Regions from separate parts of the Homo sapiens genome. Here all the other regions are linked to region 1. The links are contacts of gene promoters, found by promoter capture Hi-C in blood cells and fetal thymus (Javierre and others, 2016). All regions are on one chromosome and are shown on one strand. Each heading gives the region's core, a stretch centred on a gene start or on the middle of the fragment in contact. The rest is flanking DNA. Distances are from core to core; before and after follow the strand shown. Region 1 holds the start of RGS2 (regulator of G protein signaling 2). Region 2 overlaps LOC105371664 (a long non-coding RNA gene). Region 3 overlaps UCHL5 (ubiquitin C-terminal hydrolase L5). Region 4 overlaps LOC105371664 (a long non-coding RNA gene). Region 5 has its middle 51 kb from the start of RGS2-AS1. Region 6 has its middle 11 kb from the start of RGS2-AS1. Region 7 overlaps RGS2-AS1 (RSG2 antisense RNA 1).

Region 1 (3,319 bases), core at 323-2,822:
TTACAGACAGCTGATAAATACGTATTGAGTCATCAGAAAGTGAAAATAGATGTAGGACTATTATGCAAAGCATAGGAGAGGAAGAGCATATGCTTAAGAAAAAATGGCATTCCTAGAGTTAACAAGCATGTTTCAAAGTATCTATTACTGAAATCTACACGATTTTCCTTTCCACAATAAAGTCCACAACTGTTGTCTTAAATAATAACTGCAGGTTTTGCCCTCCAAGTCAAACTTGGAGCTCCAACTACTGGCAGCTCACCGTAAGAATATATTAATTATTTCCAATTTCCTTTTAAGAAGTCGAATACAAAGTAGAGAGAATATCTGCAGCTTGGTTGCAAAGCCGCTTAAACATTTCACTGGCTAGTTCTGGTAATATTATCCGAAATCAACTCATTTTGTGGTTGAGGTAATCTATTTGTCTTTACCAATCAAGTCGTTTTAAAACCTTCAGGAGTAGAGATGATACTTGAAGAATTAACAAATAAAACTTAATCAAGGAAACTGTTAACTCATTCTCCCCCCTACTTTTTGCCAGTTATTAAATGTTCTGGTAAATCCTAACTCAACAAGAATGACTCATGAGGAAATCCTGACTCCTTGAACTCACTGATTCTGGTGCATTACAGCTATGAAATCTCTATGTCTGCAGCTTTCTCTCCCACCATAAGGAAATCTGTGATTTCTATTTTGGCAGGAGATGTGACCAAGGACTCCTGAGGAATGACCCTATAGACAGACCCAGCCACGTGCCTAGTAGTGATCAAAAATGCAAACCCAATTAAAGCACTGTCTTCTGATAAAGTCACTTTCTCTTGTTCAATCCCTAATGTTCATTCTCAAAGTGTTCCAAGACGCCCCAGCAAGCTGCAGAGCAGATCCCACCCTGCCCCTGGGCAATCAACGTTTCAGGTTACTCCTTCCTTAAGTTAAGTGGCAGAGAGAAACGGGCGAGGGTCTCCCCATTGCCTCAGTTCACAGACCAGGGGGTGTCGAATGAGTCCTACAGCAGGACAGCAAACAAGAAATGAGGCGCGGGGTCAGGGAACGCGCTCAAAAAAGGAAGAAAAATCCCACTCTTCATTCGAAATCAGGCCACTGCACTCCGGCCTCGTGGCGGGCGACCTCCTCCTGCCAGGGAATCGCCGCTCTGGCCTCGGGCTGGGGAGCCCGTCAGGGTGGGTGAGGGAGCGCCGGCGCCCCCGCCGGGCCGCCGCCAACTTCGGCTCCCTCCCTCCGTCGCAAAGCCCTCGAGCCCGCCCGGCCGCCACGCTTCAGCAAAAGGTCGTGCGCAGCGGCCCACACTGAAGACTCTCCATCTGCTCCCACACCTGCCCCAGCTGGCCGCTGCTATGTGGCCCGAGTGCGCAAGAAGCCGGGGCCGCAGACGTCAGCAGCGCCCCGGCTTCGAGACCCTTCGGCAGCAGCCGTGACTGCCGCCGGCGGGCGCTGACCCATCCCCGTGCCAGTCTGCAGCCGACCAATCCGCGTCCTCTTGAGGCGGGGCCGGAGCCGCGAGGCCCCGCCCCCAAGCCGAGGCCTCATAAATGCTGCGACGCACGCCCAGCCGCAAACAGCCGGGGCTCCAGCGGGAGAACGATAATGCAAAGTGCTATGTTCTTGGCTGTTCAACACGACTGCAGACCCATGGACAAGAGCGCAGGCAGTGGCCACAAGAGCGAGGAGAAGCGAGAAAAGATGAAACGGACCCTGTGAGTATGGCTTTCTTCCCTCTCCCGCCACCCCCTGCCCCACACTGCAAGCTGCAAACGCGGTACTTTCGGGCTCGCCTTTGACGTTAGGAAACTAGCCTGAGCCTATGCAGGGAAAAAAAATCGAAAAGGTCAATTTGTTAAGTAAGGTTAAATCTGGGTGATGCTCGGGTACAGTTTAAGAACCGAGGGAGACAGTTGATATGAGGGCGGTGGTTGATGCGCTAAGAAATTGCGGGTTGGCTTTTTGTCCTCCTGCATTCAAAATGACATCAGAATCCTGCGGCTGAAGCGCGTCCCCAGCATTCATACGTTGCATGATGAGTTCTCATCAGCTTACACAGCTACTGGAAGGTGATGCTCTTGCTGGTTCTGAATATACTCGTTTAAAATCCATTTTTGTTTTTTAATTATAGAGCAGATCTCACCCAGTCCGAATGTGGAACAAATAATTGTTATGCAGCGTCTGCTTAAAAGAAGTGTCGTAGGTGGGGAAGGAAGAGCGCAGGGGAATCAGTCACCCACCTCTTTGTACAGTCTCTGGCGTGGTCCAGAACCTCCTGCTCTAAAGAGAGAAGCGTGGGCCGGCTCCAGACAGTTCCATGTCTGTCCTTTTCATTAAAGTGCAAAACGTCTCGGAATTGTAATTAACCTTGCAAACAAACTGATGCCCTTTGTGAGCCAGAAATAGTGTCTGCCTTTTGAACTAAATTCATTAACAATTCTTTAAAATACCCTAGTGATTATAGGTAGCCCTGCCCTTAGTTGTAAAACTAGTAGATACGGTCAGATTAATGGACGAAACTGCTCAGTACATGAGGTTTAAATGTTAGGTGGATAAGACTTATTTGAAGAGTTCTTGCTTTGCCTTATGCGGTTTGTCTCTAGTTACTGGGTGACTTTATTTGGTAAAAATGCGTTCAGCTGCAGTAGCATATTCAAGTGTTGCTAGTTAGTAATTATCTTTTTAATTTTTTGTTTTAGTTTAAAAGATTGGAAGACCCGTTTGAGCTACTTCTTACAAAATTCCTCTACTCCTGGGAAGCCCAAAACCGGCAAAAAAAGCAAACAGCAAGCTTTCATCAAGTAAGTTGAGAATCCTGTGCTTGCAAATATCAATAGTTAGCTGCTGAACTGAAAAGGGGAACTCTGATGTGCGTAAGCTAACATACAGAACCTCTCTTGCAGGCCTTCTCCTGAGGAAGCACAGCTGTGGTCAGAAGCATTTGACGAGCTGCTAGCCAGCAAATGTAAGTTAACTCTTGAGCTTGAGCCATTGCTAACATCGCAAAAGCCTGGAAAGGCTGCGTCCACCTAACAAAAGAGCAGCTTGCCTGAGGGGGATTAGACTGCAGTCACTATAGGATAAAGCCTGTTTTTCTTTCCTTTATTTCCCAGGGTTTAACAAATAAATGCATATATTCTCTCCAGGTGGGGAAGAAAATCAGCCTAAACAAATTAAAGTGGCAGTTGCTTATAGTTAAGGTTGAGTCAGTTTTTCCATTGCATACAATGTTTTCAAGAGGCTTAGTTCCCAGAGAATTTATGGCTCCCCTATAAATATTTACTTTGCATTGACAGCAAAGTACTTATATTTTTGCAGC
Region 2 (3,319 bases), core at 273-2,772, 210 kb before region 1:
GAAAAATGGTCTAGATCTTCTTTTGTGCCCCCACTCTCCCCAAACACAGGCTTATCACAGCACTGCTAACATATATTTGTATAATTTATTTAAATGATACTGCAATGGACTGTAATATCTTTGAAGGGAAAATGTCATATTCATTTTTGCATCTCAACTCCCTATCATTCCTGGCAAATATGCGTGTTTGCAAAATGAATGATAATATCACTCAATTCATCAATAACCTTTAACAACAGTGTTTACTATAATATTTGGGTTGGAAATGTGAAAGGAAGACAAAAACTGAACAGTTCCTGTGGGTAGCTAAAACAGAGGAGAAAGGGAAAAAACATTCTCCTTTGGTTCAGTAGCAGTTTTCCATGGAATAGAAAACATTGCAATCTTTACTCAGGTATTATATGTTTTTCTGGATGAAAGTCTTATTTTGGGTTGCATTATTTTCATCATTTGCAATAAATGTATGCCCTTTTAATGAGACTTTGTGTTTAATCTTATTGTTCTCTTACCATAATTATCGTATATCCGATAGAAAGAGTTTTTCCTCAGAGCAGATTAGAATCACAGGGGACAGAAAGAATATGGGTGGAAAAGAGAAGACGTTCTGCATAAGAAAGGGTACAAAGTTGCTATAGCAGTTCTTGAAAGAAACTGATAGCTACAAATTGAGAAAAGAAAGAAAGAATAAAGGAGAGAAAGGGGCCAGAAAACTCAATAGGGGTAGGGAGCAGGAGGGGTAGGGAGGAGGAGGAGGTAGGGAGCAGGAGGGGTAGGGAGGAGTAGGGGTTAGGGAGGAGGAGGGGTGGGGAGGAGGAGGAGGTAGGGAGGAGGAGGGGTAGGGAGGAGGAGGGAGGAGGTGGTGCAGCGATGGGGCATGTGCATGTCTATTGCTTCGTTTGAGGTTATTTGTCTTGTTATACTGTAAAGCTCTCCATTTCATCCAATTTCCAACACACATACACATAGTTGGGTATATTTCCCTTCATAACATCTATTTATTTATCTAAGAAATGTTTTGTGCGGATGGAGACACATTTTTTAATTGTTGCTAATTAAGTGAGGAGGAGACTAAGCTTGTCTATGTCAAGGTTTTAACGATTAAGCAAAGCTTCTAACGAAACAGGAAAAAGAAACTTAAGAAGCAGTGGAAACCATGAAATATAAGCTCTCCAGCTCTCCCTCCTCCCAGAATTCACAGAACACTAGGTATGGTTTTTTATTTACACAGGCTATGAATTGAAGTTTCAGGGTTATTTTTACCTAGGATGTAAGCGAGAAGAAAGCCTCAAGAGAAATGAATTACACATAGTTCCTAAGAACAAATTCTCTAATATGAACTGAAATACAATTATTAAAAGATGGTTCCAGAGAAACATATAGATCGATGCATAGAAATTTTACTAAACTGAACTCAGAACTCTCCTTGACTTTAGATATCCAATCTGTGTTTTCCTTACTTTTAAAGACACTTAGAAAATGTATCTAAGAAAAGTTGAAGATGTTTCTGGTTGTTTACAAGAAACTGTTTCAAGTGATGAATGACAGAGGCTAGACTTCAATCCCATTTGCGACAAGAACATTTGTTCTCTTTCTTCAGTGAGTGATTGTGAAGTGGCAGAAAGAAGTGGGAATTAAATCTCAACAAAAGTGGCTTTCTCAATTGTGTCTTATGAAGTATAGATTTCCTAGAAGTGGTTTTCATAATAGAACACAATTTTTGACTTCATGGAAATCAAAGCATCACTTTAAATCTCTCAGAACTCTATGATTCCTGTTGGATATTTCAGACCCTCAAAATTTAATCTGGAAGTTAAACATAACAATTCATAAAAGAAGTCCTTTATTGTCTGCCAAAAAAAAATTTTAACTGTCAATTTTATTATTTTAGAAACCTTCTTCATATTATAAGTGGTGATCATGGTGGCTAGTTTTAGGTGTAAGCTTAGCTAGACTATGGCACAGAGTTACCCAGCCAAACAGGAATCTAGGCATTGTTTTAAAAAGGTACTTTGTAGATGTGGCTAACATCTACAATCAGTTTAAATAAAGGAGATCATCCTCAATAATGTGGGTGAGGCTTACTCATCCAATCAGTTGAAAGTCCTTAACAGCAAAATTGAGGTTACCCTCAGGAAGAAGAAATTCAGGCTGAAGACTGCAGCATCAGCTTCTGCCTGAGAGTTTACAGTGTGCTTGCTTGCCCTACAGATTCGGACTTGCAAACCCCCACAATCACAGGAGCTAATTCCTTGAATATATTTATTTCATAAATAAATATATATGTAATCATACATATATAATCATATATTTTATATAATGTTTGTGTCCTACTAGTTCTGCTTGTCTGGAGAGCTCTGACTGATACAGTGGACAAATGCTATTGACAATAGGCTTGCATAATACTAACAAGAACAGACGTGAGAGAGATGGTTATCCTAGCAAAATAATGTAATCGTTAAGTTTTTTAGATAACAGACACATAAAAATATATTCTTGAGCTGAGAAAAATAAAAGCCAATTAAAACACGAAGTCAAGCAATATGAAAAGATGCTAAAGATAATTTGATTACTACCCAGCCTACATCTTAGGATTGTATGGAACAATAATCATCTTGGAGAAAAATATGCTACTTCATTTAGTATTAAAATACATGTCTTCCTTCCCCCCCTAAATTATAATCTCCTAGAAGGCAAAGAACACGTCTTCATTTTAGAATGCCTTACTCACAGTAAGTACACAATAAATGGTTGCTGGATTTAAAAAATGAATAAATTTGTATCCTGAGTATTAGTTACTCAACACCTATTGACTAAATGCCTCCTATGTTCCAGCACTGTGCTAAGTTTTGGGAGCACAGTGGTACACACATTAAGTCCTCCCCTCATGGAATTGTGCTGTGGCTTACCTGACCTGGTGACTGACACAGGTGCCTAGGGATGGTATTGCCCAAGTATCATTAAAAGGCTGCTGCCTTTAGCAGTTCTCTGCAAATCTGATATGCTAAGTTCAAACAGAAAATGGGTAAAGGGTGATGAAGTGATCTTTTCTTAATCAAGGCTACTGCAGAGTCCAGTGATGAGAATCAGGCAGAGCATCTCTTTTACGTATAGGTAATATAACTGCAACAATAAATAACACATTTATAGAAAAGTGAAAAAAGAGGAAAAAAAGATTATCCTGATTTATGTCAAACTCAGAAATTAGCAGTTTATTTCCCAGAACATTTAGTTTGCTTTCTTAACTATTATCTACTTAAACCATTTTGTAGAGACAATATGGAGATAAGGACATGGCCAGAGTTGTCAGACAGACCCAAGC
Region 3 (3,319 bases), core at 333-2,832, 210 kb after region 1:
AAAAATATATACTGTTAAAAATACTTTCCTTCTATACAGTGTACCAATGATATTAAAAAGTACTGACTCAAATCAGATAATTCTGCATTAATAGATACTAATGTAGATATTGTTGTGATTAGCCTTAACTATTCTTCTACCTTATTTCTATTAAGAAATAGAAAAAGATCTGAAGCTTACTTATTACCAATTGAATCACAAAGTCATAGTAAAATGTGGACAAAATTCAATATTGTGAAGTTGTTTGGATTTCCCCATAGCAATGGAATTTATGATTTTACATCACGTTAAGTTATTGGTAGTTAAAAATTTAAGATAGACAATGATTCATAATTACATACAAATGTGTAGACAAAAATTTGTTAATCATAAATATACCTGAATAAATAGAAGTCTCACAAATGTAATCTTAAACTAGATAATTTTATTTTATATTTTAAGAAAGAGATTTGGTACATAATACAAGAAGTTTTATAACTATATATTTTTGGATTACCTCCTAGGCAGTTTTTAAATGTGGTGTGTATTCAACGAATTCATCGGTTAAAAAGTCTCACATAACAAAAACATTTATAGGTTCTAACCAAGTTCATTATAGCCATGCCGAGGGAGAATCACTTTTTATTTATTATTTTGCAAATAAAAAGATTTTAGGTCAAATACTTTTATGTCATCACAGATTATAGGCAACTGCCTCAGCTATTCAAAAATCTCATCCTGTAGAATCTCAGCATATAGTAGCACTGCATGGTGCAGCCATATCTTTCCTGTTTGTTTCCTTCTATTCCTTCTCACACCTTGTTCTTTTATCCTATTTTCCCTGAAAACAAAACACAGTAAGATCCACTATTCCAACTTATCTATTTCTGAATTCTATAGGTAATTTTTCTTAGAAGTATTACCATTAAGTAATTAACTATCACTGGTAAAGATTTTATATAATTATAAAATCTAATCTTTATTCTAACAGTTTTTCAACACGCTTTATTTTTTAAATTTGCATTTATCTGCAGAAAATGATATTTTAATATGGTATCTTTTTTTTCCAAAATAAGATGAACAAAAATATATTCTTGCAAAGGAAACGGATATAGTGCTACAGATTAAGCACTTAATTCCCACCACATATTTAAAACTTTATGGATGTGAAATTTTAAGTGGCTATAAAGCTATTTAGGAGCTACCCTGTGCTTGCTGGGGATCTTTAGCCTGACTTTATCCTGGCATTTATCAAAATAATACTATTTAGCACAATACCATAATTGTTCATTTATTCCTTTCCCAAATTGTACCATGAGTTGCTTAAGAGAAAATAATATGTCTCAGTTATGTATACATCCCTAGACCTTAACAGAGTGCCTGGAATATCCTCGCAGCTAGATAAATGTTTGATGAATAATTTAAAACATTTCAACAATTCCAATTAAATGAGTCTAAGCTCCTTCAGAACCTAGGAGAATAATAGTTATTGCATGTATATAAGAAATAAATCTATCTCAATATTGCTTCTGGAATATTAATAAAAGAACAGCTTAGAGAAATAAGCAACTAGAAGGTCAATAACTACTTTCCTTAAGAAAATGAAGGCAAACACAACAGAGTTGGTGTTCCACTAACATCAGGTATTTATATGCTGCCACCTTGTGTCCAAAAAATGTGAACTAAGGAATAATTATTCTAATGTTAAGCTGACAAGCTGTTGTTCTCTAACTATGCTCTCAAAAAAATCTGGGGATATAGTGTAATTAAAAATCAAACAACAGTGGTTCTTTTACTTACTAATTTGCACACACAAAAAATTCTGTTCACAGATCAATTTTAATGCAAAATTTATACATTTAATATTTATCTAAGGGTCCTAGTCCCTAGTAACATTTATCTAACTTAAAATCTGATGTATCACATATTTAGCACATTTTATAGTTATTTTAATATTTTTAACAGAAAAACATTTGATATGATTAATAACATCATATCTAGGTATTCTTGTTAACCAAGCAATTTTGAGAACCACAGGACCCTGTATTAATCTAAAACTTTAAAAACAGTTTCCCATCTTAGAATACACCCTGAGATGCATGAACAGAAAAACCTATAATGGAAAAGAGAAGATTTAGCAGTCTTCTGCAATAATTTTTACATTTAATGCTAAAAGTTGGGTCACATGTTTCAATCAATAAGGTAATATACACAAAAAACTTATTAGCTCACATCTCATATTATTTAGAATGTATAACATGAAACAGCTTGGTTGAAATCAATCTTTGCTTTGTAAACTTTAAAATTAATAAGGAAAATATACCTACCATGTATTCTCGTCTTTAAGTTAATGGTCCAAAATTTTATTTGCCTAGTAGTGTCTTCTCAAAGTGTTTCTCAAACTGTGGTACACAGACCAGTTGCATTAGAATCACTTGGGGAACTTATTAAAGAATCCTTCCCCTATATCAGAATATCTGGGGAGGGGCCAGGTAACATGTATTTTAAAGAGTATCCACTGATGTTCACTTTCAGAAACACTGATTTACAGTATGAACTTAAAAACAATTTAACTGCATTTTACTTATTCAACAAATATTTTATTGTTACTTATGAAAAAAATCATAGAAATCAGAATTCTTCACTAACTTATGCTAGTTTTCCCTCAGTGGAATGGATACTAAATTAGAAATAAGAAAACCTATTTCGTAGTACAGGCTATTTTTTTTTTAAACCCAACAATGTCCATTCTACTTTTAAATTCTGTTATATCAACTCAAATTTTTGCTAAATAGGAAAATATTATTTCAATTATCAGCATTAAAAATCTACTTTTGCTTAAAGGAAGTGTTTTAAATTTTATTTTAATACAGCATAACCTGAGGTCTTGACACTAAGAATCTGGAAGCCTAAAGCAGTGGGGTAATTCTTTATTTTTGTTTTACAGTCTCAATTGAACTAATTCTTACAGAGTAGAAAACAAGAGGCAAAAGCAAAAGAATAAAAACGTACAAGCTTCCAAAAATTTTACCTCTATTCAAGCAAAAAATAAAAAATACATTTTATGTTTTTGGAGACTCTAAACTTAATTTAAGTATCTACCAATAAAATACTTACCTTTTCTACTAGTGGTATTAACTGCTGGTGTTCTGCTAAAGTCTTTAACAATTCCATAATGAAAGGCAGATAATTATGCTTCCTTCTGATATTCTCAATCTGAAAATAAAACATCAATCCACACTAACTACATTTCTGCTAATTTTGATATTTTATTCTTTGCATCCAACTCAAAATAGAAATGGTATATCCATTCTCATAAGAAAATGATTTTAGAAATAAT
Region 4 (3,319 bases), core at 543-3,042, 190 kb before region 1:
ATTTTTGTTTTATAGTTTCTATTCAGCAATTCTATTAGCTGAAGGTCTTAGGAATCTAATCTCGCTTCTTTTTTAATCTGGTATGTTTTCATGAGGGTTTGTTTGCTTGTGTGTTTGTAAATTTTGGATATTAAGCTCATCTTCAGCATAGATTTATCCATAGGAGTCTTGTGTGGCCTGTGTTTACAGATGTCATTCCGGGGATATATTGTCTGCTTTCTGCTAGGTGCCCCAAGGATATTACCAGCCCAAACTATTTTTACATTGATTCCTCACTTGAGAGTTTTAGGAGCTCATGGATAGGGTAAATTTAAATCCCATTACCATGATTACAAATTATCACAGAAGGCTTCATTTTTTTCATCTGCAGCCCAGGGCCAAGAGAGCTAAGCTTTCTTGTTGTCTCCTATGCCACTGGAAAGATATTTTCTAGTTCAACCTATTTCTGATGGTTATCCCTCTGAAAAACACAGATTAGAGGGTTGGTGGATCTCAATACAAACTTCCCACATGTACATGCATCATACCCCAGGTGCTAGCTTCCTTCTTTTTCCTTAACCAGGAAAGAAACAAAAAAGATTATTTGCCAGGCTGAGTCACAATTCCAGTTTTCCATCCTACCATTATGATTTTCAATTCCCACTTTGTATAGGAAATTGAGAATTTTCCTTTCTTACTAGTAAGAGCAACCATGAATTTAAAATAATTTTAAAACTATTTTAGCCAGAAAATCTCTTTGTTTTGTAATGGAAGCATTTTCAGTTACTTGGTTGGTTCAAAACATTGCTGGAAATAAAAATAGTCACCTTCTTTCCCATTCATTTACAATCTCCTTGAATTGACAGCAACAGTGTACATAAGCTAGGGGTAACTACAGATAAAATACTGCTTTCCATTATAAGTGAAAACACTGTTCTCAAATAATGGCCATGATCACTAATCTTTTAAAGGTATATATAGTGAATTGGCATTATCATGGGAAAATATTATCAGCAACAAAATAATATTAATAAAATTTATCAATTATTAAGCACTTGAGATGTATTAGTTATTACTAATCCTTATAATAATTTTCCTCAGAAAACTAACATTTATAATATAAAGTAACTTGTTCATAATCATGCACATAGTTTGATGACTCAGTTGGGAATATAGGTCCTTCTCTTTCTAACACCAAAATTGGTTATCTGTACATCAAGGGCTTCCATATGTCATAATTGACCATGATTCATGTTGCTTATTTGGGATTTGTTTATCTAGCAACTCTTTAACTCAAGCTTGCCCAAGTAAAACTCTCTATCTTTGTCTTGTTCGCTATATTCACGTCTATCAGCATGTATATGCAGAACTTATTTAATCTGTAAACCTGCCTAAATTGTTGCAAATAGAGATTAAAGTCATAAAAAATATGCAAAATGCAATTAAGCATACAGACTGTGTCTTATTTATCTGTATAATCTACTGTTTCACATAGTACATGACTTTTTAATACATAAAGTCAAAGTGATCTGAAAATACTTTAATTCCTAATATTGTAAATATTTATCTAAGTGCTTCATAAAGTACCTTATAGCTTACAATAAAATATATTATAAATACAATCTTTCTTATAAATATTGAAACATCAGTCCTTAGCACTATGTCTATAAAAACCTGGAACATTTATTTTATGCAAAAAAAAAGAGAACAGCTGAATTTTAAGATTTAAAAATTTAAAACCATAATCTGTCAAGTAATAAATGTGTGAAATTTCACTGGGGCCTGTTGTGGGGTGGGGGGAGGCGGGAGGGATAGCATTAGGAGATATACCTAGTGTTAAATGACGAGTTAATGGGTGCAGCACACCAACATGGCACATGTATACATATGTAACTAACCTGCACGTTGTGCACATGTACCCTAAAACTTAAAGTATAATTTAAAATATATATATATGAAATAAAAAAATAAGTGTGTGAAATTTAACAAATTTAAGTGTGCAAAAATCTTTATTTTTTTAAAGTGGACATATGTTCTGTCGGTAAGTTTAGACTTGCTATGAAATAAACCACAATGTAACTTAAGCCATGGAGTTCCGGGAGGACTGTGGCATCTTGATGTGATCCATGGCAATAACCAAAAAATAGGACACATTTCTGTCATCCCTCACCCTCCTCCACTTCCAGGATTGGCCTGGGACAGGAAGGTATAGCCACCCTGTGTTATAACTAAGTAACAAATATTAGTTTCCTGAGGAAAATTATTATAAGGATTAGTAATAACTAATACATTCCATTGCTTAGTAACTGGCTCTCATCTTCTCAGGAAAGAAGCTTCTTGCTGCTACTCAGACTTTTTTTCCCTTCTCTGATACTAAAACTCTTTATTTAACCTGGGAACAGAGGTGGAAAAATTTCTACTTGCCCCCAAAATTTATATTTTATATTCTGATTTAGGCATTTGAACTTTGAAAGCCCAGTAATCCTATTTTGTTGTTGTAGTTGTGTATCACCTGCACGCTGTGTATCATCCTTCCCTGAAGCAGTGGAAGCTGCAGGTCTGGCTGCCCAGATGTTTGGGATAGGTGGGAGTGGTAGAGTGTGGAAAGGTAAAGAAATTTTTAGAGAAAGAAAGTGATTTGCCTACTTGATCTACCAAGAAAAGACAAGTCGTGGAAGCCAATAAAAGTTGGCTTAAACAGGAGTAAAGATATTAGCTTGAACCACATAAAGTTATCCATATGCTACCATTTTTACCTTATAAAAACACAATTTCATATGGTTCAACCTAATAAAAGTGTTATGTTATGAGTCAGTTCATCTCACATAATGTATTCTCTCTTCAGCAGAAATCAAGGACCATTCTCAATCTTTATTTCCATGTTAAGGAGGAATATAATTTCCTTCATAATGCCATCCTAAGAGACTAGGGTTGTCAACTGTCCATCATCAAAGAGTTTTTCCATTTCATTATAATGTAAAGGCTATTTGGGCAGATTGTGAAGCCTAGGGAGTGGTACAGTATACTTTGGGGTATAAGAGTGTACACATTGAAGCCAGATGGCCTGGATTCTAACGCCCAATCCACAATCCACTATTTGCTAGCTGTATGACCTTTTTATGCCCCAATTTTGAAACATCTATAATGCAGGGATAATCACAGTATCTATTTTATAGATTTGTTATGAGAATTAATTAAATTATTTGTAAGGCTTACAGATCAGTGCTTAGTATATTCTATGGCAAATGAGTATTTATTATAATTGTTGTTATTATAATATATTATGGGTTGAATTATGCCCTCCATCCTATATTTGTATGTTGAAGGCAAATCTATAGAG
Region 5 (3,319 bases), core at 330-2,829, 190 kb after region 1:
CCCAGCTTTGCCTGCCTACCCACCTTGGTGGCAGAACATGGGACAGGGACCCCTAGGAGTTCCATGGCCCAGGTGATATGCTGGGACTTCTGAGTACTTCTCCTGGCTAACAAAGGTCAAACATAAATCCCACGGCCACTGTCACAGCTGTCTCTCTCCTGCAAGTGCAACCTACTGGCCAGGAGGTCAACCTGCACAGCCCATTATAACATCTACTGACACAATCACACAACCCTCAGGAAGAAGAAATCCTTTATGGACCTCAGCTACCACCATTGCCCACACCATCCTGGCTACTTAGGAGGCCTTGAGTCCCTTCAAGTACGTTACTACTACAGCTGGCATCTGAGAAAGCCACCACACTAAGGCCATTTATAACAAAGGAAATTTCACAGAACCTACACCACTCTCCGACTACCCCAATCAGGGCTGGTGTTTGCACCTGCCATTTGATGGACCTGAGAGCAAATGAGCCTCGTGCAGCTTCACCCAGCTTTGCCTAGCTCTGAGAGCAGAGCCTAGGCCATTGTGGAGTCCCACAATGTGGTCCATGGCCTGAGGCATCAAGAGAGCTTCTTTAGGTAAAAAAAGATCAAACACACACCCTACTGCTACCACTGCAGCTGACTCTTACCTGCCAATGCCACCTACTGGCCTGGAGGTCAAACTGCACAACCCAATACAAAAATCTGTTGACACCATGCACAGTGCTTGGGAATGTTGGGAATGAGAAAAGTTTCTCAAGACCTCCACCTTCCCATCTCTGCAGGTGGCCAAGAGTCTACTTACATGTCCAGTACACTGTTACTACAACTAGCATTTGAGAAAACCACCACACTGAGGCTATGTATAAGCAAGGAACTCATACAGAGTATTTGCCACCTGACAGCACTCACAAGCAAAAGAAACTATCATCAGAGTGAACAGGCAACCTACAGAATGGAAGAAAATTTTTGCAATCTACCCATCGGACAAAGGTCTAATATCCAGAATCAACAAGGAACTCAAACAAATTTACAAGAAAAAAACAACCCCATCAAAAAGTGGGCAAAGGATATGAACAGACAGTTCACAAAAGAAGACATTTATGCGGCCAACAAACATATGAAAAGAAGCTCAACATCACTAATCATTAGAGAAATGCAAATCAAAACCACAATGAGATACCAACTCATGCCAGTCAGAATGGCAATTATTAAAAAGTCAAGAAACAATAGATGCTGGCGAGAGTGTGGAGAAATAGAAATGTTTTTACACTGTTGGTGGGAAGGTAAATTAGTTCAACCATTGTGGAAGACAGTGTGGAGATTCCTCAAGGATCTGGAACCAGAAATACCATTTGACCCAGCTATTCCATTACTGGATATATACCCAAAGGAATATTAATCATTCTACTATAAAGACACATGCACACGTATGTTTATGGCAGCACTATTTACTATAGTGAAGATGTGGAACCAATCAAATCCCATCAATGATAAACTGGATAAAGAAAATGTGGTACATATACATATACATATACATATACGCCATGGAATACTATGCAGCCATATAAAGGAATGAGATCATGTCCCTTACAGGGACATGGATGAAACTGGAAACCATCATCCTTAGCAAACGAACACAGGAACAGAAAACCAAACACCACATGTTCTCACTCATAAGTGGGAGTTGAACAATGAGGACACATGGACGTAGGGAGGGGAACAACACACACTGGTGCCAGTAGAGGGTTGGGGGGCAAGGGGAGGGAGAGCACTCAGACAAATAGCTATGCATGCAGGGCTTAAAACCTAGATGATGGGCTGATAGGTACAGCAAACCACCATAGCACACATATACCTATGTAACAAACCTACACGTTCTGCACTTGCATCCTGGAACTTAAAGTAAAATAAATTAATAATAATAATAAGAGCCATCTATGACATACACACAGTCAACATCATACTGAATGGGGAAAAGCTAAAAGCATTCCTCCTAAGCACTGGCATGAGACAAAGATGCCCACTTTCACCACTTCTATTCAACATAGTACTGGAAGTTCTGGCCAGAGCAATCAGACAAGAGAAATAAATAAAAGACATCCAAATTGGAAAAGAAGTTGAATTATTTCTGTTTGCTGACAATATAGTCTTGAGCCTAGAAAACCCTAAAGACTCTTCCAAAAGATTCCTAGATTTGATAAATGAATCCAGAAGTTTCAGGATAAAAAAATCAACATAGAAAAATAGGTAGCATTTCTATACAACAATAATGATCAAACTAAGAAACAAATCAGTAACTAAATTCCATTTACAACAACTACTACAAAAAATCCATTTAACTAAAGAGGTGGAAGATGTACACAAGAACTATAAAACATCGAATTTATAGCTTCATTGTAATTCCTATCAAAATACCAATGTCCTTATTCACGGTTAGAAAAAACAATCCTAAAGTTCATTTCAAAAAAGAGCCCAAATAGCCAAAGCACTCTTAAGCAAAAAGAACAAAGTTGGAGGCATCATAGTACTTGACTTCAAATTATACTACAAGGCTGCAGTAACCAAAAAAAGCATGTTATTGATATAAAAATAGACACATAGATCAATACAACAGAATAGAGAACCCATAAATAAAGTCACATACCTACACACAACTGATCTTCAACAAAATCAACAGAAACTTAAACTGAAGGAGGGATACCCTAATTCAATAAATAGTTCTGAGAAAACTGGATAGCCATCTGCGAAACAATGAAACTAGATCCCTATCTCTCACTATATACAAAAATTAAGATGGAGTAAAGACTTAAATATATTACCTGAAACTATAAAAATTCTAGAAGAAACCCTAGAAAACTTCCTTTGGACATTGGCTTAGGTAAATGTAACAAAAACAAAAATAGACAAAAGGGACTTAATTAAACTAAAAAGCTGCTGCACAGCAAAAAAAAAAAAAAGAAAGAAAGAAAAAAGAAAATTATGAACAGAGAGAACACGCAACCTATGGGATGTGAGAAAATATTTGTAAACGATACAGCCAACAAAGGACTAATATCCAGAAGCTACAGGGAACTCAAACAAGAACAACAAAAAAAGCAAATAGCTGGGCACGGTGGCTCACGCCTGTAATCCCAGCACTTTGGGAGGCTGAGGCAGGCAGATCACCTGAGGTCGGGAGTTCGAGACCATTACGACTAAAATGGTGAAACCCCGTTTCTACTAAAAATACAAAAAATTAGCCAGGCGTTGTGGCACGCAACTGTAATCCCAGCTACTCAGGAGGCTGAGGCAGGAGAATCGCTTGAACCCGGGAGGCGGAAGTTGCAGTGAAC
Region 6 (3,319 bases), core at 562-3,061, 150 kb after region 1:
TTTTAGAATAACTTTTGCTGCAGTATTGAGAATGTCCTGAAGTAGAGCAAGACTAAATACACAGAGATCAGTTTTAAATGTTTGCTACAGGCCGGGCATGGTGGCTCACACTATAATCCCAGCACTTTGGGAGGCCGAGGCAGGCAGATCACCTGAGGCCGGGCGTTCGAGGCCAGCCTGACCAGCATGGAGAAACCCTGTCTCTACTAAAAATACAAAATTAGCCAGGCATGGTGGGGCATGCCTGTAATCCCAGCTACTCAGGAGGCTGAGGCAGGAGAATCGCTTGAACCCGCGAGGCAGAGGTTACAGTGAGCTGAGATAGCTGCCATTGCACTCCAGCCTGGGCAACAAGAGCAAAACTCCATCTAAAAAAAAAAAAAAAAAAAAAAGTTTGCTACAATAATCTAGGCAAATCCTGTACTAACATATGGCAGCAGGACAAAGAGAAGTAGATGGACTGATGCAATGTTAAAGAGGTATTAGGAGGACAGGATCATGAAGGAGATGGAAGAATTGAATTTCACTCTGTAATTCTGGTTTGAGATCCTGGACTAATGGGAGTACCACTCATGGATATGAGAAAAGGTGAGAAATAAGAAGAAAGGTGAGAGACATAGGATAATATAAATTAGAGATATGTTGAGTGTAGCTGCTAGGATTGCATTCAAGTGAATGCAAGAAAATCTAATGTAGTGGTTAATTCTTATTTAGTCACACAGCAAAAACCTGGGAGTGTGCAATCCAGGCTGGATTCTGTATCTAAATAATGCCATCAGGTACCCAGTTCCTTTAGTTGTCCTGCTCTTCTTCCCTATAGTATATTCAGTCTCCATGGTCTCAAAACAACTACTGTACCTCCAGAGTTTTAGGAAGGAAAAAGAATAAGGAGAAGAGGTTACTCCCAAGTATGTTACATTTGCAAAATTTTTAGCATGGCCACCCTTAACTACAAATGTGTAATGGTTAATTTTATGTGTCAACTTGTCTAGGCTAAGGAATGCCCAGATAGCTGGTAAAACATTATTTCTGAGTGTGTCTGTGAGGGTGTTTCTGGAAGAAATTAGAATTTGAATTGGTAGACTGAGTAAAGAAAATCTGCTGACACAGGTGAAACATTATCCAAACTGTTGAGAACCTGAATATAATAAAAAGGTAAAGGAAAGGCTGGATGATCTCTAGAGGTCTTCTTGTGATCAGCACATCTGTGTTAGCTCTAAATCACATTCTTGTGCATTCTAAACCAGGCTTCATTTCTGTTACTCAAATTCCTAATTAGTAAAATATTTTAGAATAAATAAAAAATTTTAATTAAAAAATAGGACAAAACAGAGAATAATTCTAAGGAAATATATATAATTAAGTCAAAGGCACAGATTATCCTTAGACTGCTTAATTGATACCCAAATAGTTACTTGAATAATTAAGTTTTAATGATAGCAGTTACTGAATCTTCAAAATACAATTGAATAACTCAGTAAAATAATGGTGAACCCTATTGTTACAGATTTATACTACAAATTATCTTCAATGCATTTCTAAATTATGCTATCATGAAACTGCATATCCCTAGGGATAGCAAAGACAAAGCTAAACCAAATGTTGAAGACATTATTGTAATGAGTCAGGAGAAACCTGAACCTGGCCTGTGATGTCATTTGTTCTGCTCAACTGCAGTGACTTAAACAGTAAGGCTTATTTTATATTTATTATTATTAATCAAATAAATGGGAAAAATCAAGATAAATTAGTTGACTTTAGTCAATAAAAATCTATCAAATTTACAAAAAAGTAAAGCTCCTCTTTCTAAATATTATAAAGAAAATATCAACCTGAAATAGCACATTGCATTAAACTTCTCTAAATGCAAGTGCCATAATTAATTGTCCATTTCAAAATGTTTCAAGGTACCTCATGTTAGGACAAGCAGCATTATTAAAAGAGTAAATTAAGTGTGTGGCTTAAAATCTCTCCTGAGTTTTGAAACAGGGTTTCAAATTATTTCTAATTACTTAGAATTAGTTGGATTCATTCCATTTAATTCAATTTAACAAAATTTCTTGGTATATCCTATGCACAAAACACTGAAAAAAAATCTGAGAAGTCACAAAGATAAATAAGACATCAACTCTGTGCTTCTTTATCTATTTATGTTTTACTGATACATAATAATTGTACATATTTATGCAGTACATGTGATACAATGTGTAATCACCAAGAAAGAGTATTTAGGATACCCATCACTTCAGACATTTAACATTCCCTTGTGTTGAGAACATTCCAAATCTTTTCTAGATATTTTGAAATACATAATAAATTACTGATAAGCATTGTCATGCTACTATGCTATTGAACACTAGAACTTATTCTTTCTATCAAAATGTACTTTTTGTACCCATTACCTAACCTCTTCAGGAAATCAACATTATTTTAAATGAAGTAACACTTGTTGAACACCTTCTGTGTATCTTTCTTGCACTGCAATAAAACTTCATAACACTCTTTTTGACCTGTTTGACAGAGGAAGGAAACAAAACCCAGAGAGATGAAATGACTACCCAAGGGCATAGGGGTAGTTGTGGTAGGACTGAGATTTGAAACTAGCCTTGCTTTTCCTAAGTTCATTTTTTACTTTACTATACCACATTTAGCTGTAAGGAAAAATAAAAGAGAGAAATAGAATCAGCACTGGAAACTGAAAAGAACAGAAAAATAGATTAGGTCCAGAAGGCAAAATGCTGACCAGAACTTCCATTTGGCAAAGCCCCTGTGGAAAACAAGCAAAAGGAGCATCACTTAAAAAAAAAAAAAAAAAAAAAAGCCAACAGCAGGAATCCAGGTGGGAAAGGGAGGGGAGTGTGGAACAGAACATGTACCAACCTCAAGAATTCAGTGTGAGCCTTTAAGAGTGAGGCTTACAGGAGTAGGAAGAAAGAATTCTTTGTGAAATTGTATTTACAGAGAATGTGGTTTTTGAACTAGACTCCAAGGATTGGATAATTTTAGTAGGTGAAGAAAGGAGGAGAGGAAATTGGAGATGGGTCCCAGGAATCTACATTTTTAACAAACTCTTCCCAGTACTTCTAGTTGATGCTAAAATTTGAGAACTGTTTAGTCAGATATTTGGCAAGTATATCACTGTAATAAATAACTACACCTAATTTAATGGAAAAAAGATTATTAAAAGGGAAAGAGCTCATTAATTTTAGCTGTAAGATCAAATATTAACAATTTCAGAGGTGTATCTCCTTGATATGGTTTGACTGTGTCCCTGCCCAAATCTCATCTTGAATTGTATTTCCCATAATCCCCACATGTT
Region 7 (3,319 bases), core at 209-2,708, 130 kb after region 1:
TCACCAGACCAGGGGGAAATAACAGACATAAGAACAATGTAGGGAATTTTGTATAAAACTAAATCTATTCTGTATTTTATTTTAATGTGTGTACATTTAAGGAGCACGAGCACAGTTTTGTTACATGGATAGACTGTGTAGTGGGCTTTTAGTATAACCATCACCTGAATAGTGTACATGGTTCCCTCCTCTCACCATCTACTCATCTCTCACCCCCTCTCACCCTCCCACTCTTCTGAGTCTTTATTCAGTATTTTGAAATTTATTTTTAATGTCTCTCATTAGCAAAACAAAAAGGAAATTGGCAATCCCATGTTGGTGTCCCCTAATGTATTTTTACTTTCTTGTTCATTAAAGCTGAAGTTCAGGGAACTACTGGACTACAGTTGTGTAGTTTCACTAGACGCTGAAACTAGCCAGAAAAAGGAAAATAAGCAGGGCAAAACACATAAAAACAAGCGAGCAATCAAAGAGTTAGAGGAAATTCCAGTGGTCTAGGAGAAAATGTGGAGGTGAAAAAGGAACTGAATTTAATAACAAATAAAGCATTAGTTTCCTGCAAAGTTGAAATAAATATTTTATTTTAAAAAAAGAGACATTGTACATTCTTCTTTTAAATTTTTCGTGCCAAATACCTAGTTTATACTTTGTATTTTTAGAAGAATCATTTGAGGCTTAAAATGCAAGGCGTGTGTATATATAAATGTCTTTCCTTTATGAGATACGTGTCTTCTGCACAGAGGGCTGTAAAAAATTATCTAAAATTTTTTTAATAATAAGAAAATTTTTGCCAAATAAATCTTTATTCTCATATTTTTTAAATGCTAAAGAACCTCTCTCAGTAGATTGTGTTGTCAATTCTAGCATGGAAGAATTAGAATCATGTTCTGGCTTGTGCAGTGCAGAGGAATTACAGGATATTTGCTGGGCGTTTCACCTTATAATTCACTTTTCCTCTGTGTGATCTTCTCTTTCTAATGTTGTTCTTTTCTTTCTCCTATAGTCAATTTACTTGCAAGCACCTACTCCTAGTTTGTTTCCTGAGTGGTTGTAGGTATCTGCCACAGGCTGATAAACTTCCCGAGGTCAGTTACCTCTTAGTCTTAGTCTTCTCTTAGTATCCCTGCAGAGAACCCAGGCCCATAGACTCATTTAAGCTTGTTTACTTACTTTGCCTTCCCTCAAAGAGCGATAAAGAAAATGACCTTAGCTCCATAATCCTCAACTCTGATTTATAGAACAAGGCATCCCATTAGTGGCTTTCATTTCCATCCTATCAGTCAATTGTGTTTTGGCAGGATACCTCAAAGTTAAACATCATAAAGCTAGATTTAATGTTAACTTATTGCTATGTAAATGGAAATATCCTTTTCATATTTCACTTTCTATTTGTGTTAGATCATAAAAAATTAAATCCATCTAGCTCTAGCATATAATAATGCATGTTTAGAGACAAGAATAGGAATCAGAAGGGTAGATTTGAAAATAAGTTTGAAAATGACAAAAAGATATTTAAATCAGACTTCATCTTTTAAAGAGCAAACATTTGTGCTTTATAAAATTCACTAAATTTATTTGTTTCCTTAAAATAATAAGAGGATAAAATTTGAAGCTCCATATGCAAGTTTTAAAAATGATAATTTTAAAATGTTAATTCTTTGTTAGCTAAGGAAGTATTTTGGATATATCTCTTCCACAATTTTATCTTCTTCTTTTCAATAATTATTTTTAACATAAATTTAGCTTATAATTTCATCATCAAAGCTTTAAGAAATCCATAAGTATTTTTAGCAACATTGTAAATCTCTCTTATTTCTATTCTGCTTTTTTCCATTCCATTTTTTATTATAGTTAAAAATAACTATAATACTAGCCCAGTGTGCATTCTTCCTCTTTGGGGTATATTTTAAGCAACTAACAATGAATCCAATTTGTCAATAGCTCAGAGCGCATATTAGACAGACAAATACATTAAGCACGGAAATTTGCATTGAAATAAACATACCATCACGACTTCTTAAATTAGGATTCACAGTAACTACCATTTAGTGAGTTCTTATCATGTAGCACACACAGTGCTAAAAATTCAATATGTATAAATACACACATACATATATACATACATATATAATCTTGTTTATTCTTTATAGTAACAGTATGAGGTAGGTACATTTAACGTTCCCATGTTACAGATAAGGGTACTGACACTTATTAAATGAAGATATTTGGTAAGAGGCAAAGCCAGAAATAAAATTCAGGTTCTGCCTGTCTAACTCTAAAATCTATAGACAATAACCTGCATAATTGCAAAGTGGGCAGACTGATAACCTTATAAAATCAGGATCACCCAAATTCAAAATGACACCCAACACTCTCTGACCCTTATTACATAATTTCTCTAGTGAGCAAACACTGTCATACTTTGCAAAGACAATTTCATACTTCCTCAATGTCTGTCTCATAGCAGCTGCTCAATAAAGATATGTTAAATAACAATAATAGCAAAGATTTAGATAATGCTATATACAAAGCACTTCTCTTTCTTTCCTATTTTTTTAAGTTTTAGATTCAGGAGGGACATGTACAGGTTTGTTACATGGATATATTGTGTGATGCTGAGCTTTGGGCTTCTATTGAACCTGTCACCCAAATAGTGAACACAGTACCCAATAGGTAGTTTTTCAACCCTTGACCCTCTCCCTCCCCTCTTTTAGTGTCCCCAGTGTCTGTTGTTCCCATCTTTGTGTCCGTGTGTACCCAATGTTTAGCTCCCACTTTTAAGTGGGAACATGCAGTATTTGACTTTTCTTACCTTTATACATTTTAACTCATTTAATTTTCTTAACAGCCCTATGAGGGTAGTTACTATTGCTAGTCTAATTTTGCAGATGAGGAAATGGAGGCACAAAGAAATTAGATAACTTCTTCTGGGTCATGTAAGTGGAAGAATTAGACTTCAAGCCCAAGCAGTCTTGTGCCCTAGTTCCACAGTCCATAGCCCAAACAAATAAATGAATGAAATAACCAGAATGATTTTTGCCAACATACATCAAATTATCACTGCCTTGAATCAAATCGTTCAGGGACTCCCCACTAGTATGTAGGATAAAAATGTGCAGTTCATAGTCCAGCCTGTAAGGCCCTATATGATCTACTACTTCATCTTTCACCTCACATTTTGTGCCCTTCACTCTCCTCGGTCTCATACAGCAGATATCATTCAGTACTTTCCTTCCAATCTGGGTCCTTCACACATGTTGTTTCTTCTCCCTAGAAGCTCATTCTTAAGACCTTCAACTGATTAACTTGAATTCATCAT

Evidence for each region. Contacts are between HindIII fragments. The CHiCAGO score rates a contact against its expected background, and 5 or more counts as called.
Region 2: a fragment that was not itself captured here is called in contact with the fragment with the promoter of RGS2 in region 1 in 2 of 17 cell types (M0 macrophages and total B cells); the score reaches 6.3 in M0 macrophages.
Region 3: a contact is called between a fragment that was not itself captured here and the fragment with the promoter of RGS2 in region 1, in 17 of 17 cell types (M0 macrophages, monocytes, M2 macrophages and 14 more). The highest score is 42.7, in M0 macrophages.
Region 4: a fragment that was not itself captured here is called in contact with the fragment with the promoter of RGS2 in region 1 in 3 of 17 cell types (total B cells, naive B cells and M0 macrophages); the score reaches 8.4 in total B cells.
Region 5: a contact is called between a fragment that was not itself captured here and the fragment with the promoter of RGS2 in region 1, in 11 of 17 cell types (neutrophils, M2 macrophages, monocytes and 8 more). The highest score is 20.8, in neutrophils.
Region 6: a fragment that was not itself captured here is called in contact with the fragment with the promoter of RGS2 in region 1 in 4 of 17 cell types (monocytes, neutrophils, M1 macrophages and 1 more); the score reaches 18.5 in monocytes.
Region 7: a fragment that was not itself captured here is called in contact with the fragment with the promoter of RGS2 in region 1 in 5 of 17 cell types (monocytes, M1 macrophages, M0 macrophages and 2 more); the score reaches 22.9 in monocytes.

Annotation. Positions count from the first base shown.
Region 1 is chr1:192,807,467-192,810,785 of GRCh38, forward strand. It overlaps RGS2 (regulator of G protein signaling 2), which reads left to right and starts at 1,573. Exons shown (of 5, transcript NM_002923.4): 1 at 1,573-1,715; 2 at 2,700-2,801; 3 at 2,904-2,965. The coding sequence starts at 1,606. RefSeq lists silencers at 24-113, 1,050-1,259, 2,767-2,826 and an enhancer at 1,590-1,809. The HindIII fragment of the contact is 4,593 bases long and covers 1-2,789 here.
Region 2 is chr1:192,594,628-192,597,946 of GRCh38, forward strand. The region is part of intron 2 of LOC105371664 (a long non-coding RNA gene); the gene reads right to left. Among named protein-coding and RNA genes, the nearest start is that of RGS1, 21 kb to the left of the region's middle. The HindIII fragment of the contact is 833 bases long and covers 1,107-1,939 here.
Region 3 is chr1:193,018,001-193,021,319 of GRCh38, forward strand. It overlaps UCHL5 (ubiquitin C-terminal hydrolase L5), which reads right to left. Exons shown (of 11, transcript NM_001199261.3): 10 at 3,097-3,195. Among named protein-coding and RNA genes, the nearest start is that of UCHL5, 40 kb to the right of the region's middle. The HindIII fragment of the contact is 2,819 bases long and covers 174-2,992 here.
Region 4 is chr1:192,616,402-192,619,720 of GRCh38, forward strand. All of the region lies in intron 2 of LOC105371664 (a long non-coding RNA gene), which reads right to left. All of the region lies in intron 1 of LOC107985241 (a long non-coding RNA gene), which reads left to right. Among named protein-coding and RNA genes, the nearest start is that of RGS13, 18 kb to the right of the region's middle. The HindIII fragment of the contact is 1,035 bases long and covers 1,276-2,310 here.
Region 5 is chr1:192,998,085-193,001,403 of GRCh38, forward strand. No RefSeq gene overlaps it. Among named protein-coding and RNA genes, the nearest start is that of RGS2-AS1, 51 kb to the left of the region's middle. The HindIII fragment of the contact is 8,959 bases long and covers 1-3,319 here.
Region 6 is chr1:192,957,443-192,960,761 of GRCh38, forward strand. No RefSeq gene overlaps it. Among named protein-coding and RNA genes, the nearest start is that of RGS2-AS1, 11 kb to the left of the region's middle. The HindIII fragment of the contact is 7,616 bases long and covers 1-3,319 here.
Region 7 is chr1:192,938,443-192,941,761 of GRCh38, forward strand. The region is part of intron 1 of RGS2-AS1 (RSG2 antisense RNA 1); the gene reads right to left. Among named protein-coding and RNA genes, the nearest start is that of RGS2-AS1, 8.2 kb to the right of the region's middle. The HindIII fragment of the contact is 607 bases long and covers 1,156-1,762 here.